Linked DNA regions of Homo sapiens: region 2 is linked to region 1. The links are contacts of gene promoters, found by promoter capture Hi-C in blood cells and fetal thymus (Javierre and others, 2016). All regions are on one chromosome and are shown on one strand. Each heading gives the region's core, a stretch centred on a gene start or on the middle of the fragment in contact. The rest is flanking DNA. Distances are from core to core; before and after follow the strand shown. Region 1 holds the start of SPATA3-AS1 (SPATA3 antisense RNA 1). Region 2 has its middle 74 kb from the start of SP110.

Region 1 (6,566 bases), core at 2,372-4,871:
TAGATGATGCCCTCTGTGGTTGGGCAAGATAATTTCTGGCTGGATTATTCCCTCCTGTTTCCTATCTGTAGCCCTGCGTCTTCTTGACAGAGCTACAGATTCTTCTGACCCTAAGCTGCATGAAACAGGTGGTCAACCTGGCAGATTCAATACACTTTCTGCTTAGACTTGCCCACGACACGTACTTTCCCGGAATGAGGAGAGGGGATTCTAAAGGCAAGACTTGTCTTTTTTTTTAATTACAAAAAAGTTTTTAAATTGAGATATCATTCCCAGGCAATAAAATTCACCCTTTTAGAGTGCTCAGTGGTTTTTAGTATATTCACAAAGTTTTGTGGCCATCACCACTAATTTCAGAACGTCTTCATTTCCCCAAAAAGAAACCCCATCTCCATGAGCAGTTACTCCCCACTCTCCCATTTCCCCCAGTCCCTGGCAATACATTTGCCTATTCTGAACATTTCATGTAAATAGAATCATTCGATGTGTGGGTTTCTGGGAGACTGGATTCTTTCACTTAGCCAAGTGTCTATAAGGTTCATCCAGGCTGTACCATGTATCAGGACACTATCTCTTTTTATTGCCAAATAGTATTTCACCATACTCATTGTACTGTGGTATTTCATACCACATTTTGTTTATCCATTCATCAGCTGATGGACATTTGGGTTGTTCCCACTTTTTGGCTATTACAAATGCTGCTGCTTTGAGCATTTGTGTACAAGTTTTGGTGTGCTTCTAATATGCTTAATAAGATGCTTCGAATTCTCTTGGATGTATACTGAGAAGTGGAATTGCTGGGTCATAAGGTAACTTCATGTTCCTCTGAGGAACCACCAGACTGTTTCCACAGCAGCTGCACCATTTTACATTCCCGCCTACAGTGTATGAGGATTCCAGCTTCTCTACATCCTCACCAACACTTGTTATTGTCCATCCTTCTGATTATACCCATCCTAGTGGAAGACTGGCATTTTCTTGAGCTACAATATTTCTGCACACAAAAAGGCTTGGATTTTAGAAAATGGCACGCTTTACTTGCAGGCCCTCATCCTTCATCTCCAACATTCCTTTCTACGCAGAGAATTCCTTTGGAAGAAGTATAGGGTGTCTGCTGTAACCACTGGCGAGCCACCACCATTTCTTGCTTTCTTGCTTTGCCTGTTCAATGGGCCAAATTCTTCTCTGAGTATGAGTCACATGTGTTCATTAAAAGACTTGGGAATGGAAAGTCTTGCTTTCTACCAGTACTGAAGATGCCAGTTCTGAAGATCATAACCCAGAAATGTTTCTCTCACTGGCTGATGATCACAATCTTTACAACATATAGTATGGTGCTCAAAATCAATATCATATGTCAAGAAAGGTTTGATTCCTGGCCATGGAAGGATCATTGGCATGGCATGCCTTATATTTAGCACTCTCATCTCCATCACTTATTTATTTTATGCCCACACAATCCCGGGGGGTAAACTGTGGCCCAGGGAGTGTGGCCTGTTCAAGGCTATGGAGTCGTGGGCACTGGCTCATGGCAGATCCAGGAGATGCTCGGACAGAGATGTTCTTCCTCTTGTGGAGACTCCTAGGCCTCTTGGAATGGAAAGGTCAGTGCTGTGGTTTAAAGTGAGGGTTCTGGAGTCAGAATAGAGTGGGTTTCCCTTCTCAGGGCTACCAGCGTCTGCTCAGGAGCAACCTGTTTGACTCCTATGAGCCTCAGTTTCCCCATCTATAAAATGGAGATAATATGGAAGAACTTTTATAGGATTATCACGTGTGAAAATTAAGACACCTGATCTGAATGCTAGGTACACAGTAAATGCTTAGTGATAATGTTAGTTTGCTATCACCATTATTGTTAGTAGTATAAACCAGCCCACCTCCTGAACTCCACTTGAATTCCCTCTACACAATCCAATGCTTATACAGACACTGTTTGGCTCCCAAGAAGACAGGGAACCACTTTTCCTGACAGCCATTCCATTTTCAGACAGAGCTAATTGTTGGGAAGTTTTTTATGTTGAGCCGAAGGCTTTCTGTCACTAATGTCTTCCATGGGTAAGATTGCTAATTTAGCAAATAAAAATATAGGATGCCCATGCAATACTGGGGACACACATACTAAAAATATTATTTGTTGTTTACTAAAATTAAAATTTAACTGAGAGTCTTGTATTTTGTCTGGCTATCCTATCCATGGGCCTGTATTTGTCTGTTTTCACACTGCTGATAAAGACATATCTGAGACTAGGCAATTTACAAAAGAAAGAGGTTTGTGGAACTTACAGTTCCACGTGGCTGGGGAGGCCTCACAATCATGGTGGAAGGTGAAAGGCACATCTCACATGGCGGCAGACAAGAGAAGAGAGTTTGTGCAGGGAAACTCCCTTTTTTAAAACCATTAGATCTCATGAAACTTATTCACTATCACGAGAACACCACGGAAAAGACCCTCCCCCGTGATTCAATCACTTCCCACTGGGTCCTTCCTACAACACCTGGGAATTCAAGAAGAGATTTGGGTGGGGACACAGCCAAACCACATCAGACCCTTAGATCTCTGAGGACAATAAGGAACAAGTCTATTCACATCTTCCACTTGACAGACAGACATCCTCCAATTCCTTCAATTGACTGTCATACACTAAATGGTCTCCCTGATCCTTCTCATCCTCCATCAACCCAGACTATCTTCCTTGGACTAGTTTGTCAGGCATCTTTTACAGCCCAAAAGGATAGCTTGATGAGGACAGAATAAAGCAGTATCATCACCTCCCTTATTCTAAACCATATACTTCTATAAATGCATCCTTGGTTTTTATTTTTTAGCAGTTGCATGGCACTGCTGATTCCTAGTGAGCAAGTATTACTATGGAACCAAGTTAAATGTTTATATGTATGTGTGGCTGTCTTCAGTGAGACTCAGGATGATGAGAAATGACAAAACCCAGGAATCCTGGTCTCTTGGGTAGAAACAAAAACAAAAACCTTCCCACTCTACAGCACAGCTCCAGGATACACGTTAACCATGCATCACTATCCTACAAGAACCAGCCTTTGGGATGACCCAGAACTCCATCAGCAGGAAGGCTGGAACTGCTGAAGCTAGAAGACAGCCCACCTGCTTTCCTGGATTGAGGGGCTGCCTTCACGTTAGCATCTGGAGATAAAAGGCAGCAAGAGGAGCGGCGGATTTCGGGTGCTGGAAGGGCTTGGAATGCTGGCTGCCGGGAGGTGGTTTCAAGGCTGGAATGCTGTGGTGTGGATTCAGGGCTAGGCTGCTGTGGTGTGGATTCAGGACTAGGCTGCTGTGGTGTGGATTCAGGGCTAGGCTGCTGAGAGGTGGAATTGGAGCTAGCATGCTGGGAGGTGGAGTCTCGGTGGCGTCTGGCCTCTGACCTTTTCTTCTTGACCTTCTTCATGGTAGATCCTCCCAACCTAAACGTGGACCTACATGGAGCTGCGTAATCTCCCGGCTCCCTCCTGGAGGGGCCGTTTGCCCTCTGCCCTAGGAGCCTGGCTTGGGCCTCCAGCTGGACCCAGGCCCCACAGAGAACAGTGACCCACACCTCCTGTGAGGTCATAAAAGCCAGGGTGGCTCCTATGGCAGGGCTTCAAGGGACAGTCTTCTCTGCAGACACCAGCCTGGTGTCCTCCTTCATCCCAGGCTGCCAGGCTAGGCAGGGGACAGCGGCTGCCCTGGTCCTCACAGCCCTGGCTACGGGGCTGGTGACAGCCAGATCCTCATGCTTCTGCGACCTGAGCGCTGCCTTCAGACACCTCTCTGCTGGCGTGTTCCTGGGTCCATGTGAGCTACCTGTTTTGCTCTAAGATACCCTGGATGTGACGCTCAGCTCTGTCACTGGCTTCCACATACCCCCTACTCCTACACCTCAAAAATCCATGTTCCCCACGCATTCATCTTCAGGTCAGCTTCCTGAAGATTTGGAGCTTCTTCGAAGGCTTTACCATGGCCCAGAGCCTGCTACCATCTCAGAGTAGCTTACCCCTTCCCCCAAAGCCTGCCCTCCCGCACTGTGGGAGGGGAGTTTGGGGGTTGACTTGACTTTTATAAGAACCTTTGCATTTGGCAGATAATTTTCCCTGAGAACATAACAGCTGTTCAGAAAACTAACATTTGTCTCAAACTCATGGCAATGGCAACCACAGACTATCTCCCAAACCCCAATTGGTTGGGTTAAACAGGTGACTGAATCTTTCTCTAGATTAATTAATTTAATGTGCTCATTAAATGTGATTTTTGTTTTAGGATGGAAGAAGGAAAAGTATTTTTAAAAGACAATCTGAAGCTCATACTGTGACTGCAACATAAAATGTGTTCACCTGAGGAGACTGCTTTCATCGCCAGTGTGTCACAGGTGGGTGAGTGTGGGACTGGCAAGCGCAGGAGCTCCTGCCCCAGCGGAAGGTTTAGAGCAGACCTATGCAGATAAAAAGGGCTTCGGTCACGCCTGTAATCCCAGCACTTTGGGAGGCTGAGGCGGGCAGATCACGAGGTCAGGAGATTGAGACCATCCTGGCTGACATGGTGAAACCCCGTCTCTACTAAAAATACAAAAAATTAGCCGGGCGTGGTGGTGGGTGCCTGTAGTCCCAGCTACTCGGCAGGAGAATGGCGTGAACCTTGGAGGTGGAGCTTTCAGTGAGCCGAGATCGTGCCACTGCACTCCAGCCTGGGCGACAGAGCGAGACTCTGTCTTAAAAAAAAATGGGGGGCTTTGGGCCACACAAAGCCAGACCCAACATGAACTCTGAAATGACAGGACATAGTTTAGGGCTTCTAGAGCCTAAAAATACCTTAATGATGACCTTTCCTCAGAACACTGAGGTTTAGCGAAATTAAGTTACTTTCCCAGGGTCACACAGCTGGCTGGGGGCATCGGAAGGACTAAATTCCAGTTTGGGGCTCATTATTTTCATGATCCCAGAAAACAATAGGGAGTCAGATAATTATACAGGCTTTGAAATAATGAATTAAAAAGTCCCCCAGTGGCCTGGTGCGGTGGCTCACGCCTATAATCCCAGCACTTTGGGAGGCTGAGGCGGGCAGATCATGAGGTCAAGAGATTGAGACCATCCTGGCCAACCAACATGGTGAAAACCTGTCTCTACTAAAAATACAAAAATTAGCTGGGCATGGTGGTGCACGCCTGTAGTCCCAGGTACTCAGGAGGCTGAGGCAGGAGAATCACTTGAACCTGTGAGGCGGAGGTTGTGGTGAGCCGAGATTGTGCCACTGCACTCCAGCCTGACGACAGAGTGAGACTCGTCTCAAAAAAAAAAAAAAGGTCCCTGAGCGAGAAGATTGAAGAAAACAAAGGCAGGAAGGATCAGAAGTGAAGGCAAGCTCAGCTCAAGAGTATTGGGTTGTGTTTGGTTGACCTTGGCCTAAGGAGGCTCTGGGAGCAAGTGAATCTGTATGAAGCTGGTAATTTCCTGAAGCCAAGAGCAATGGAACCCTTGAGGGGACTCCATTTAGAATCAGAGAGACTGGAAACCGAGGCCGGGAACCCTGTTGAGATCTAGCAGACAGCTCAGGAACTCCTAAGGCATTAATCTCTGCAAAGTTGGATTTTCAGGTACCAATGGGCTTCGGCCGAGGGCCTCAACCTGGTTTAAATCAGTGTTTTTCAACCTCAGCCCTGTTGACATTTTTGGGCTGAGTAATTCTTTGTTGTGGCGGGTCATCCTGTGTATTGTAGGAAGTTTACCAGATCCCTGGTCTTTACCCAGTCTTTACTCCCCCCTACCCCAGGACAACCCAAAATGTCTCCAGATATTGCTAAATGTCCCCTAGAGATGGGGTAGGAGTGTGTGTGTCCACATTGCCCCTGATTGTGCCATGTTGGTGTAAATGAATCAGATAGGAGCAGACACATATAGGTAGAACTTCCTGGTAGCAATGAAAGAAATATTCCATTTTACCAGAAGGAGCCAAACAGGGCACAGAGAATGAGTCTCTGTCTTCCTGTAGAAAGATGGAGGAAGCACAGAGGGCAGGCCGAGGGAGGAGTGGGGAATTTCTCTGTGGCAGCAGCAAAAATATGTGTGAATTCTTTAGTAAGAGTGGTCCCAAGAAGCAGAGAGAGGGCACCTGTGGAAAGAGGTTGTCCCAGAAGAATGAGGAAGAATGGTCCCTCAATAGCTCCTTGCTAGAACGTCTTCCCTGCAGCCCCCACCTTCTTCTTCTTCTTCTTTTTGTTTTTGTTTTCAGAGTCTCACTCTGTCTCCAGGAGTGCAGTGGCCCAATTTTGGCTCACTGCAACCTCCACCTCCCGGGTTCAACTGATTCTCCTGCCTCAGCCTCCCGAGTAGCTTACAGGCATGCTCCAGGCTCCTGAGTAGATTACAGACATGCGCCGCCATGCCTGACTAATTTTTATAGTTTTAGTGGAGACAGGGTTTCACTCTGTTGGCCAGGCTGGTCTCGAACTCCTGACCTCAAGTGATCTGCCTGCCTTGGCCTCCGTAAGTGTTGGGATTACAGGCATGAGCCACTGCGCCTGGCCCCACTGCTTTCTGTTTGAGCACCTGTTCCTATACAGGAA
Region 2 (6,566 bases), core at 3,049-5,548, 850 kb after region 1:
ACATTTGGTTGCAGGAGAATATTCATCAGGATAGAGTTAGTTATGCTGCAGTAACTATCCCCAAATCTCAGTGGCTTAAAACAAAGGTTTATTTCTCACTCATACGAGATCCCTGGTGGGTCAGGGCTACTTTCTAGGGCAGCCACCCCGTGTAACAGTTCAGCTTTAGTCCTCCATGTGAACACGTGCACCCTCAATATTGACAGGGGACCAGAATGTGGAAAATCACACACCACCTCTTACAGGCTTTCCTTCAAAAGTGACAGGTGTCACTTCCTATTTGCAAAACCAGTCACACGGACCAGTAGTTTAAAAATGTATCTACCCATCTTCAAAAGGTGGAGACTAATTCCCCTTCCCTTGCATGTGGGCCAGACCTACTGCCTCGCTACGACTATGGCAGACATTGAAATATGTGACCCGAGAGGCCAAATGCAAAAAGAATACCTTCAACTGGTGTGGGCCCACTTTCAGATGGTGCATTCTGGTGAAGGCCAGCCATCATGTCACAAGGACACTCGAGCAGCCCTTTGAGAGCACCAGATGAAGAGAAGCCTATGTGGAGAGGAACCAGTTGGCCAGTACCAACCCACTGGGTGTGTGAGTGGGTCCCTCAGAGTGGATCCTCCAGCCTCCATCAAGCCTCCAGGTGATCCCAGCCCCTCAGCCTTCCAGTCTTCCAGATGAGGCACCTCCCATATGTCTGTGTCCTGTCTGAATTCTCGATCCACAGAAACAGTGAGATAATAGGCCTCTAGGTTTGGAGGGTGATTTATTACACAGGAATAGACAATGAAAAAAGTACACATGGCTTCACCTAATCTCAAAAAGATAGGAGAAGTTCGAGTTTCCCATTGGCTTAAAGAAGGGACTAATTATTGGTAAATGTCTTGATCTTATTACAACAAGGTGTCAATGAGGAATTTTCAAACAAAAACCTGGACTCACATTCCTTCCTCTAATGGTTTGTAAATGGCTGCTGACTGAAACATCAGGGGATTGCTCTTGCCCTAAGATGCTCCCTGGAATAATGTCTGAGGTCATAGACGCACAGGCCATGGCACAGAAGCTGGACAGCACTTTTTAGTCTTTTTGAAAAACACATCTAGATTTTACATTTTACATTAAAATGTAAAAAGAATGAGCACCTGGGGATCCATGGAAATAATATATCACTGTCTCTCAGTCACATGCTCTCTTATTTTTGCCTGTGTTGTGGTTATTTGCCTTTAACTAGGAGATCTGTGGTGGTAGATATGGAGATAACGTGAGAACATGGGCAGAAAAAGTCCTTATATCCAAAGCAAAGCAAATGATTGACTGATGTTTCTGATTTTTAAAAAATTGTTAGTGCTACATAAACTGTAAGTATAATAATTACAACTAAGGTTCATCTGACCTTAACTCATGGAAATAGTCTAGATTCAATTGGCCCAGAATGGTCCTATAATTGTATATATGGACAGGAATATAAATTTCTCTATACACATACATATGCATATACACATAGCATCTATACTATACTTAGCTTTAGGTAACATGTATACCTATATATCACAACTAGAAATAAAATTTCCTTTCAAATTAGCCATTAACAGATTCTTAATGATGAATAGTGATCTTGTTAGTAGTTAACTGGTAACCTTTATATTGAAATAGCAAGACATACTAGTATGCAAGCAAGAAACAGCTTGATTCTTTTTCCTGGGGCCCATTCAAACCCTATTTTCAAATCCAACCTTTACCTCCCTAGGATGAAATCTTAGATGAGATCCCATAGTTTTGTCTAGTCACTTTTTCAAAAGACTGTGGAAAAAAAACGCAGCATAAAATGTACCATCTTAACCATTTTTAGGTGTATAGCTCAGTAGCGTTAAGTGCGTTTACATGGCTATGAAACAAATCTCCAGAACTTTTCCATCTTGAGAACTGAAGCTCTGTGCCCATTAAAGAACTATTCATTCTCCCTGCTCTCTCCAGCCCTGGCAGTTGCCATTTTATATTCAACTTCTATGAATTTGACTACTTTAAACACCTCTGATAAATGGAATCATACAGTATTCATCTTTTAGTGACTGGCTTATGTCACTTAGCATTATCGTCCTCAAAGCTCATCCATCTTGTAGCTTATGACATAATTTCCTTCCTTTTTAAGGTTAAACAATATTCCAGATTTTTTAAGGTTAAACAATATTCCATTGTGTGTATATAGATATTACATACTACAATATTACATATCATATCTTATTACATACTATATTACATATATTATAATATTGATATATATCATATATAAGATTACACATATTACATACATATATAATTACATATATAAGATATATATCAATTACATGTTACATATATTATATATAAGATATATATATCAATATTCTATTGTGTATATATATCAACATTCCATTGTGTATATATAAATATTCCATTGTGTATATATATATACACACACACACAACTTATAGTTTGTTTATACTATATCTTATAATATGTAATAAGATCAAGACATTTACCAATAATTTGTTCCTTCTTTAAGCCATTGGGAAATTACATATATATATATATATATATATATATATATATATATATATATATATATACAATGGAACACTGTTTAACCTTAAAAAGGAAGGAAATTATGTCATAATTTGGTGTATATATAGGAGATATATATATATATATATATATATATATCTCACTGCATTTATCCATTCATCCATGAGGCATGATGGACATTTGGGTTGCTTCCACCTCTTGACTATTGCGAATGATGCTACAATGAGTATGGACATACAAATATCTCTTCAAGCTCTGCTTTCAGTTCTTTCTGGATATATACCTAGAAGTGGGACTGCTGGATCATATGGTAATTTTATTTTTGATTTTTTGAGGAACCTTCATACTGTTTTCTATAGTGGTCATACTATTTTACAACTGCACCGGCAATCCACAAGTGTTCCAATTTCTCCATATACTCAGCAGCACTTGTTATTTTCTGTGTTTTGTTTTAATGGTGGCTGTCATAATGGATGTGAGGAGATAACTCATTATGGTTTTGAATTGCATTTTGCCTAGTTATTCTAAATAATAAAAGTCCTTTGGTCATTATCAGCTCCAAAGAACAATCTCATTTTAGTAAATATAATAGGCAGAATAACATCCCCCCACTCCCACAAAGCTTATGGCTGTGTTATATGGCTATGTTGTGCTGCATTACAAGAAGGAATTAAGGTTGCAGGTGGAATTAAGGTTTCTTGTCTGCTTCCCCTACCCACCTGTGACTCCTTCAGTGTTGGAACAGAGCTTGGAAGAACATGAAACGGGCAGGAAAGGCCATCCTTAACAAAGGCAGATGTAATATGACATTTGCATCTTCTGCGTAGGGCAGATTCCCAGCGGTGATTCTTTCTTTTCTATACCACACTGTGGGATCCTAGGTCTAAGTTATCCCCTTTGGACTCTTGGGAAATCCTTGTCTTTAGCCAGGTGCTTCTCACTCTATTTTCATCCTCTGCTACCAATAGTAACCTCCAGCCTCTTTCGGCTGAGGCCCCTTTCCTTTGGCATGAAGCCCTTTGGACAGGTCGTTTCCAATAACCCAAAGCCAGACCCTACTTGTAAGTCCTCTTGGCTCACAAGAACACTCTGACATCCTCTCCCCACCTCCACCAATGTGCAGTTTTCTCTCCACTGCATATATATGTGTTTGTATGGCCATCAGGCAGGTAGTTCCAGAAACAGACTTTGACCTTCTCAGAGGAGAAAAAAAAAGCTTAAAATCCATAAGCATGGCTGATTTTACAGTCTTGAACTTCTTCTAAACAATGGCCTGAATTCATTCAACATTTTCTTATGATGAGTATTATGAACTACTACTTTTCTATTCTTGCTTTTAAGATTTTGCCCAAGTTTATTCTTAAAGTAGTCAATATGTGTTTATATAGCATATCTACGTAGAAGCCAGAATTAGTTTCATGCAGAAATAATGTGTTTGCAGTTATAGTAAATAAAATATTCATAAGAACTTAGAAATTTTGAGATAATTCACATTTTATCCTTAAAGCAATTTATTCTTAGAGCTTTATGAAAGCTATATCTTCTCTGAACATTTGCCCAAACCTCCCACACTATCTGACTTTAAACTCACTATCATTGCACCATTCAATATGAGCAACGAACATTTTACAAGAACTCTCAACAATTGCAAGTAACTTTACCTACCACTTCCTCTCTTCCCTTCCCTTTTGTATCTTGCCCAGAGTTTAAGGTTCCCAGGGGTGCACAGGATTTTCACATCATGAAGTTAATTATTGCTGATATCATGAACTCTCATTTGTGACATAAATTATAACTCTAAATACCAGTTTAAACAACTTTCCAATCTAAATCTATGATATCAAAACCAAAATTATCTTACAAATGATAAATTCTCAATACTTTGCCTTTTGTAGATCATCTCTTAAGGAAAACACAGAAGAACTGTTAACATTGGTTGACTCTTAGAGAAGAGTGGGAGACCTGGGAAAATGGAGAGGAAAAGATTTTTTTTTTTTTTTTTTTTTACTAAATATCATTTTGAACCCTTTGACTTTTACACCACTTAGATTCCCAATTCAAAATTTTTTTAATTTTAAAATTGATAATTTGTATTTGAAAGTATGAAACTACCACTTAGCACTTAATGTTACAAGCAGAAGTCACCTTTGAGATCAGAAAATAGAGTTTTAATAGTTTTCTACGTTTTAAGGATAAATTAAATGACTTATATTAGATCTAGGACTTATATATAAGTTAAGCTTGGTAAATTTTTTTACTTTTTCTTTTACTTTCTGGGGAACAAAGATATCCTTTGCTCTTAGATGGCTTAATATTTCAACAGTTCCCTAGCAAGCAGACTCAGGAAAAAAAAAATGTTAACCAAAATAAAGAGAGAGCTTGGCTTTTATGGGGAAGGGGTTTGTAGAAAGGTATGTTTTATTGGTTGATGAATCCGTTTCTTAATCTGAGGGCCTACAGTCCACCAGGCCCCGTGTTGGGTCCCCTGGGGGACAAAGGTACTAAGACCTGATGCCTTCCCTGGAAAGATACTTGAGCAATGGAAAAGAAAAAGTGATGCTTTGTTTTCTCAAAGTTGGGGTTGGAGAGGGGCAAGACTTATAACACCTAGAGAGAAGCAAGAAAACTTGAAGTCAAAATGTAGTAGAAACCACTAGAGCCTGAAAACAAGGAAGGCCTGAGGACAGGAGAATGTAATCAAAACAATGGGTGAAAAAGGCTTTCTTCCATGATCCAGGTGTCCACACCCAAAGCACAGTGGAGAATCGAGGCCTGAATCTCCCACGCAATTGGCCCAACTCTCAACAGTGAGGAAATGATCACCTTGGGCCAAGTAGTGTACAAGACAAATGTTAAAGGGAAGGCCCCGACCTCCTAGGTTTATGTAAGGCCATTGTAAGCCTCAGCTTTTTCTCATTTTAAAATCAGAAATAATCATACCTATATATAAAATTGTTGTGAGGATGTGACATATTGTTTATAAAATAGCTCGCATCATGTTAGGGTTGCCGTTGTTGCTCAATAAATGCTATCTGTTGTTTTTGCTGCTGTTGTTGCCTGTAGGTAAAATTAAATGCAGTAAAGGCAGATCCTATGGATTGGCTCATTCAATCTTCATTTTACCCTCCTTTTGTGGTAACTTCCAGCATTGCCAAATCTATGAAACTCAGAACTACATTTCCAAGACTTCTTTACTTTTAGAGTTCTGGATGCCACTTAGGTTCTACCAGTTAGAAGCAATGATGTAAGATTTGGAAGATGGAAGGGAGTGGAGGCCGTCTCCCTCTCACTATTTCTTCTGGCAAGCAAATTCACAAAGGCATGAGTGTCAAGGGGCAGGAGGAGCTGTGGTGGTGGCAGCTGCTTAACCTCCAGATCATGCTGGTTGCAGTGGTTTACTCTTGACATCAATCAGGCATGGGGTTTGGGGTCCCAATTTCACTCCTTCAGCTTTCTAGGGACTTTGTCAGCATCTGATTCCTGTATTAGGTCCTTTCTGCTTAAAATACCTAGGGTGATGATTCTTATTGCTAGAACTGAATCCTGACTGATTCAGAAATGGATGCTTTCTCTAAAGAAATGCCACACATAAACTTCTGTGAAAGAATATATTTCATGCTGCTGCCTCAAACTTGCTTAAAGTTATTAGTGGATTTCCATGTTTAAACCAGGTCAGTGTTCTTATTGATGCCATTCTCTTTGAAAACTGTGAATATAACACAACTAAAGTTCTCTGGCATCCTGAACAGTTAACTCTGTATTTGTATGTCATGCTGAAAAACAGAGTATATGTTTGTGGTGACCATAACCCATCCACTGTCTTTCTTTATACTTTACTTGGTTGAAACCAAACTGATCCTTGAAATAATTTTGCCTCCTGATACTCATTCTTCCTTCCTTAGTATTAAGAATCCCAATTTTTGGCTGAGGACACAGCTAACCAGCTAAAATTTATTTCTTTTCTCCATGTAAGCTAGATGTATTGTCTGTTCTTACAC

Evidence for each region. The method cuts DNA at HindIII sites, captures the fragments that hold promoters and counts their contacts. A CHiCAGO score of 5 or more calls a contact.
Region 2: a fragment that was not itself captured here is called in contact with the fragment with the promoter of SPATA3-AS1 in region 1 in 1 of 17 cell types (total B cells); the score reaches 5.8 in total B cells.

What each region holds. Positions count from the first base shown.
Region 1 is chr2:230,993,087-230,999,652 of GRCh38, reverse strand. SPATA3-AS1 (SPATA3 antisense RNA 1) reads left to right here and starts at 3,621. Exons shown (of 6, transcript NR_033879.1): 1 at 3,621-3,805; 2 at 4,268-4,376. It overlaps SPATA3 (spermatogenesis associated 3), which reads right to left and starts at 3,532. Exons shown (of 5, transcript NM_139073.5): 1 at 3,119-3,532. The coding sequence starts at 3,419. RefSeq lists an enhancer at 3,488-4,021. The HindIII fragment of the contact is 18,304 bases long and covers 1-6,566 here.
Region 2 is chr2:230,142,206-230,148,771 of GRCh38, reverse strand. No RefSeq gene overlaps it. Among named protein-coding and RNA genes, the nearest start is that of SP110, 74 kb to the left of the region's middle. The HindIII fragment of the contact is 1,024 bases long and covers 3,787-4,810 here.